2 separate regions of the Homo sapiens genome follow, and region 2 is linked to region 1. Evidence: promoter capture Hi-C in 16 types of primary human blood cells and fetal thymus (Javierre and others, 2016). All regions are on one chromosome and are shown on one strand. The core of a region is centred on a gene start or on the middle of the fragment in contact, and the rest is flanking DNA. Distances in the headings are between cores, read along the strand shown. Region 1 holds the start of PRKAA2 (protein kinase AMP-activated catalytic subunit alpha 2). Region 2 has its middle 56 kb from the start of MIR4422.

Region 1 (2,893 bases), core at 225-2,724:
CAAAGGAATGAAAAATGAGTCTCTTCTACTCATTCAACAGCCTTGACTTGGGGTTAAAATATGAATTTTACAAGGAAATAGAGACCTCAGAATAAAATTTCCAGACTGCCTACCCAGCATTTCTTCAGCAAAGAGAAAAAATAAAGGTCAATATTTCACTTATAATTCTGGATTTGCAACAAAGTATTTTTAATAAACAACTGTCTCTATTCTGGAGAGAAGGCAGGTTAATTAAATCACATGTGACTAATTAACAAAAAAGAAAACAAATGAAAGTTCCATACTTAACTATTCTTACTAGTTACTTAACTCGAATAAAGTATAACATTTCAAAAGCAGCCTGTTTTTCTACATTCAAAAGGGGATCCTATCTCCATGAAGACAGACCTTAGCAGAATATGCCTTAGCAGTCCTGACCTCCTCAGCCTCAAATCCTCCAAACACCAAGGAAACTTTTTCTCTCCCTTACCCTAGAAGTCTTCCCATAGCCATTTTACAAACACAAACACCTTCAGACCTCTCTGTTTTAATTAACCTCTGACCCAATCCAGCTGCATTCCAGCGTTAAACAACACCCCAGGAAGAAAGACTCACAACCTCTGGCCCCTGGAGCATCCCCCAAACAGTCACCCCCAACAACCGAGAGTCCTGGAACGTGAAGGAATCTGGGGATGGCAGGGACCTCCCAGCAAGACCAGAATTGGAGGACATCTTAGACTTCACTCTGGTACTGACCATTTCTGTGTGACCTTGGGCTTGTTACTACATCTCTAGGGGTCCTAGTTTTCTCACCTTTAGGGTGAGGACAACATGTTGACCAAGTCACTGTGAGGATTCAATGAGATTCCATGTAAAGCACCTAACAGGGCACCCGGCACGAAACGGCGCCTCAGTCCTCAGTAGCGTGGATGATCCCCGCCCTAAGCCTACAGGCTCAGAGCTGGAAGGCGCCTCGCAGAACGAGTCCAGTTCTCCCGATTTTGCAGAGGAGGACACTGAGGTCCAGAGAACACAGAAGTGCCTTGCTCCGACCTCCAGAAAGGCAGATGGGCGCGGAACCTGGAACCCAGGACGCCCATCCTCAGCTCACACCCCCGCCCTCTTCCCTGGACCCTGTGGGGCCCGGGCGCCGGTGCCAGGCGAGGCGGTGCGCGCCACCCTCCCGGGGCCCCAGCTCCGCGCGACCCGGGACCGCTCCACCTGCCGCCGAGCCCCGCGCCCGCCGGAGGCCCGGGGCTCCCGCCTCTCCCCTCGGCCTCCCGCAAGTCAGGCAGCCCCGCACAGCGGTCCGGAGCGCGTACTCAACTCTTCACTTTGCCGAAGGTGCCGACGCCCAGCGTGTCGCCCAGCACGTAGTGTCCGATCTTCACCCGCCCGTCGTGCTTCTGCTTCTCAGCCATCTTCGGCGCGCGCGGCCTCGCTCCACCGCCTGCCGCTCCGCGTAGCCGCCGCCGCCGCCGCCTACCCACAGTGCAGCGGGCCCTGCGGGCGAGGGGGCGGACCCCGAGCCGCGAGGGGCGCGGGGCGGGCGCGGGGTCCCGGGAGAGGGCGCTGGGCGCTTCGGGCCCAGGTGGGAAGCAACGGGCGAGCGGCGGGCGGGGCGGGGCCGAGGGAGGGAGCGCGAGGCGCCCGCTCCCGGGAGTGAGAGGCTCCTGCGGCGGAACCCGAAGCAGCGACAGCGGGGGCCGGGGACGCGGGGCGCTGGGCGGGAGTGCGGGAGGGGCTGCGCCAGATGCGCGGGGTCCGAGTGAGGGGCGGAGGCGACAGGTGCTGCGAGGGGGGTAGGCGAGGGTGCCGAGGGAGGCAGGAGGCCCTTTCTGAGGAAAACCGAAGGGGGTGAAAATAGGGGGTGAGACTGGGGCCCGATCCTAGGGAATGGAAAGACTTGGAAGTCAAACTGGAAGAAGAGACGGGCCTCGCATGTCGGGAGCGAGGGGCTGTAAAAGGGAAGAATCGGGAGGGGAGACTGCGGGAAGGGCCCTGGCCAAAGGGGCAGTGGCAGGAGAGCCTCTAGGAAGCTCCTCAAGTCTCGTCTGAGGCTTTTGGATACAGGTCGCGGCACAGGGAGAATGCACGCAGCTCTGTGCTCTCTTGAATTGTCCTCCTCTACTTATTCTGTAATTCCCAATTATTTTGTCCTATAGATGGAAGAGACCCTCTCCGCCAGAGCTCTCAATTTTAACTAATTTGCCCACAGTTTTCCAAAAAATCTCAGTCACGGTATTTGCTCGAGTGTTTTTTAGCACATGCTTATATAAATATGTAGTTTTACCACGCGCTTATATAAACATATAGTACCGAAATGTGATACAGCTGTACAAGAAGGAAATGGGAAAGACGTGGAAAGGGAAACAATGTTCTGCCCACAGAAAGTAAAATACGTAAGCGACAGAGGAATTGTGAAGGGCGAGGCCAGTATAAGGTCACATATTAAAGGAAGAATAAATGTGATATAGAAGTGAAAAGAGTGGTAAGAGGAAATTAGAAGCATGATGCCTAGGCAGCGTGTTCAAAGACTGACCTCCCCACCCTCCCCCACAAAAAAAAAGAAAAAAGACTGGCAAAGAATTAGGTAATAAAGCGATTATCTCTGCCTCTCTTCCTTCTCTCCCGCCCTTCCTTCCCTCCTTCCTTCCTTCCTTTAATGTTGTCTCATTCTTTAATGTTGTTCTGTCTTTCAGTGATTAAAGTTTATTTGCTTCTCACCACACACACAAAAAGATTCGTATACAATATGTTTGTTAATTAGCTTGACTTATAGCCATTCCACAATCAATATATTTCAAAACATATACATACTAAATATATACAATTTTTATTTGCCAATGAAATAAAAAATTTTAAAACAGTAAAAAAAAATTCTGTTTGGGGATAAGTAATTAAGGATTAGTCA
Region 2 (2,981 bases), core at 40-2,539, 1.4 Mb after region 1:
TACTAAATTACACATATGGGCCTCCCCCATGAGGCTGAAGTCCTTCAGCCACTACTCTGGCCAACACACACACGCCTACCTACACACCTTCTCTGGCAGAATATCCCACTTATCCTTCAGTTTTATGCTTACAATCATTCTGCAGGCAGCCTGCCTAAATGTCAGGTGTTCCTGTTATTTCCACCCATATTAACCTGTATTTCCCTTGTTTCAGCACTTGTCAAACTATCTGCAATATGTTCTCTGATGACAGTGGAATTAATCTAAAAGTCCATATAACATGTGAAAATTAAGAAACACTTGATTATATTCAGTAACAATAGCTACTGTTTATTGAGCTTTGTGCCAGGCACTATACTAAGCACTTATATAAATACAAACATGCACAAACGCACATGCATACATCTACAATCTCATTTACTGACTACTCCAAGCTTCTTAGGTGGTTGGTGTCACTTTTTCATTCTATAAGAGGTAGGGGTGGGAGCCTGCAGGGAATCAGCCTTGGAGAGTTTAAGTGATTTGCCCCAACCCATGCAGATATATATGTAGCAAAACCAGAATTTGAACCCAGATCTGTGAGTCTCCATCTCACTATACTATCCTGCCTCAGTGCAGCATGGGTTAGACTCACAGCTTTGTACAAGAACAAGAGACCCTATAAGAACAAGCTCAACACAGGAAAGTGGCATTCCTTCCCTCTTCTTACTGTCACTTCAATTACAGACATCTCTTGGAGATATTGCAGGTTCAGGTCCAGGCCACTGCAATAAAGTGAATATCACAATAAAGTGAGTCACATGAATTTTTTAGTTTCCCAGGGCATATAAAATTATGTTACTATAATCTAGTACGTGTGCAATAGTATTATGTCTACAACAATGTACACACCTTAATTTAAAAATATTTCATTGCTAAAAAATGTTAATGATCATGGGAGCCTTTAGTGACTTGTAATCTTTTTGCTGATGGAGGTTCTTGGGGTGGCTGGGGCAGTTTCTTAAAATAAGACAACAATGAAGTTTGCCACATTGATCGACTCTTCCTTTCACAAAAGACCTCTCTGTTGCATATGATGCTGTTTGATAGTACTTTACCCACAGGGAAACTTCCTTCAAAATTGGCATCAGCCAGGTATGGTGGCACGCAAATGTAATCCCAGCTACATGGGAGGTTGAGGTGGGAGGATCTCTTGAGCACAGGAATTCCAGACCCTGTCTTTCAAAAAAAAAAAAAATAGAGTCAGTCCTCTCAAACCCTGCCACTGCTTTATCAACTAAGTTTATGTAATAGTGTAGATCCTTTGTTGTCATTAAAACAATGTTCACAGCATCTTTACCAGGAGTAGATTCCATCTCAAGAAACATCTTTCTTTGCTTATCCATAAGAAAAGTAAGTCCTCATCCTTGCAAGTTTTATCATGAGATTGCAGCAATTCAGTCACATCTTCAGGCTCCACCTCTAGCTCTCTTGTTATTTCCACCACACCAGCAGTTCCTTCATCCACTGAAGTCTTCAACCCCTCAAAGTCATCCATGAGGGTTGGATTCAACTTCTTCTAAACTCCTGTTAAGGTTGATATTTTGACCTCTTCCTATGAGTCACAAATGTTCATAATGACGTCTAAAATGGTGAATCCTTTCCGGAAGTTTCTCTATTTACTTTGCTCAGATCCATTAGGAAAAAAAAAAGCTATCTATAGCCTCATGAAATGTATGTCTTAAATAATAAGACTTGAAAGTTGAAATTACTTCTTGATCCGTATGTCTTAAATAATAAGGCTTGAAAGTTGAAATTACTTCTTGATCCATGGTCTGCAGAATGGGTGTTTGTGTTAGCAGGCATGAAAACAATATTCATCTCTGTGTACATCTTCATCAGAGCTCTTGGGTGATCAAGTGCACTGTGAATGAGCAGTAATATTTTGAAAGGAGTTTTTGTTTCAGAGTAGTAGGTCTAAGTTGGCTTAAAATATTCAGTAAAACATGCCGTTAACAGATGTGCTGTCATCCAGGCTTTGTTATTCCATGTACAAAGCACAGGCACTGCAGATTTAGCAGAATGTTTAAGGTGCCTAGGATCTTTAGAATGAGTCACCATCTGCACTAGCCCCTAACGAGAGTCAGCTGCCCTTTGAAGCTTTGAAGCCAGGCATTGACTTCTTCTGTATAGCTATGAAAGATGGTATCTTCTTCCAATAGAAGGCTATTTTGTCCACATTAAAAACATGTTGTGTGATGTAGCCACTTTCATCAATTATCTTAGCTAGATCTTCTGGATAACTTGCTGCAACTTCTCCATCAGCACTTGCTGCTTCACCTTCGACTTTGATGTTATGGAGACGACTTCTTTCCTTAAGCCTCATGAAGCAACCTCTGATAGCTTTGAACTTTTCTTCTGCAGCTTTCTTGCCTCTCTCAGCTTCCATAGAATGGAAGAGAGTTAGGGTCTTGCTCTGGATTAAGCTTTGGCTTAAGGGAATATTGTGGCTGGTTTGATCTTCTATTGAAACCACTAAAACTTTTTCCATATCAGCAATAAGTTTATCTTTTTTTTTTTTTTTTTTTTTGCTTTCTTATCACTCATGTATTCACTGGCACAGAACTTTTAATTTCCTTCAATAAATTTTCCTTTGCATTCATAATGTGGCTAACTGGCACAAGAGGCCTAGCTTTCAGCCTGTGTTGGCTTTCGTGATGCCTTCCTCACTAAGCTTTATCATTTCTAGCTTTAGATTTAAAGTTAGAGATGCACAACTCTTTCTTTCACTTGAACACTAAGAGGCCATTGTAGGGTTATCAATTGGCCTAATTTTAATATCATTGAGTCTCAGGGAATAGGGAGGCCCAAGGAGAGAGAGAGAGAGATGGGGAAACAGTCAGTGGAGCAGTGAGAATACACACAATATTTATCTATTAAGTTTATCGTCTTATGTGGGCACCGTTCATGACACCCCAAAACAATTACAACAGTAACATCAA

Evidence for each region. Contacts are between HindIII fragments. The CHiCAGO score rates a contact against its expected background, and 5 or more counts as called.
Region 2: a fragment that was not itself captured here is called in contact with the fragment with the promoter of PRKAA2 in region 1 in 1 of 17 cell types (fetal thymus); the score reaches 5.3 in fetal thymus.

The regions. Positions count from the first base shown.
Region 1 is chr1:56,643,895-56,646,787 of GRCh38, reverse strand. It overlaps PRKAA2 (protein kinase AMP-activated catalytic subunit alpha 2), which reads right to left and starts at 1,474. Exons shown (of 9, transcript NM_006252.4): 1 at 1,307-1,474. The coding sequence starts at 1,400. LOC101929935 (a long non-coding RNA gene) reads left to right here and starts at 1,470. Exons shown (of 3, transcript NR_135111.1): 1 at 1,470-1,570. The HindIII fragment of the contact is 10,307 bases long and covers 1-2,893 here.
Region 2 is chr1:55,280,025-55,283,005 of GRCh38, reverse strand. No RefSeq gene overlaps it. Among named protein-coding and RNA genes, the nearest start is that of MIR4422, 56 kb to the right of the region's middle. The HindIII fragment of the contact is 1,705 bases long and covers 437-2,141 here.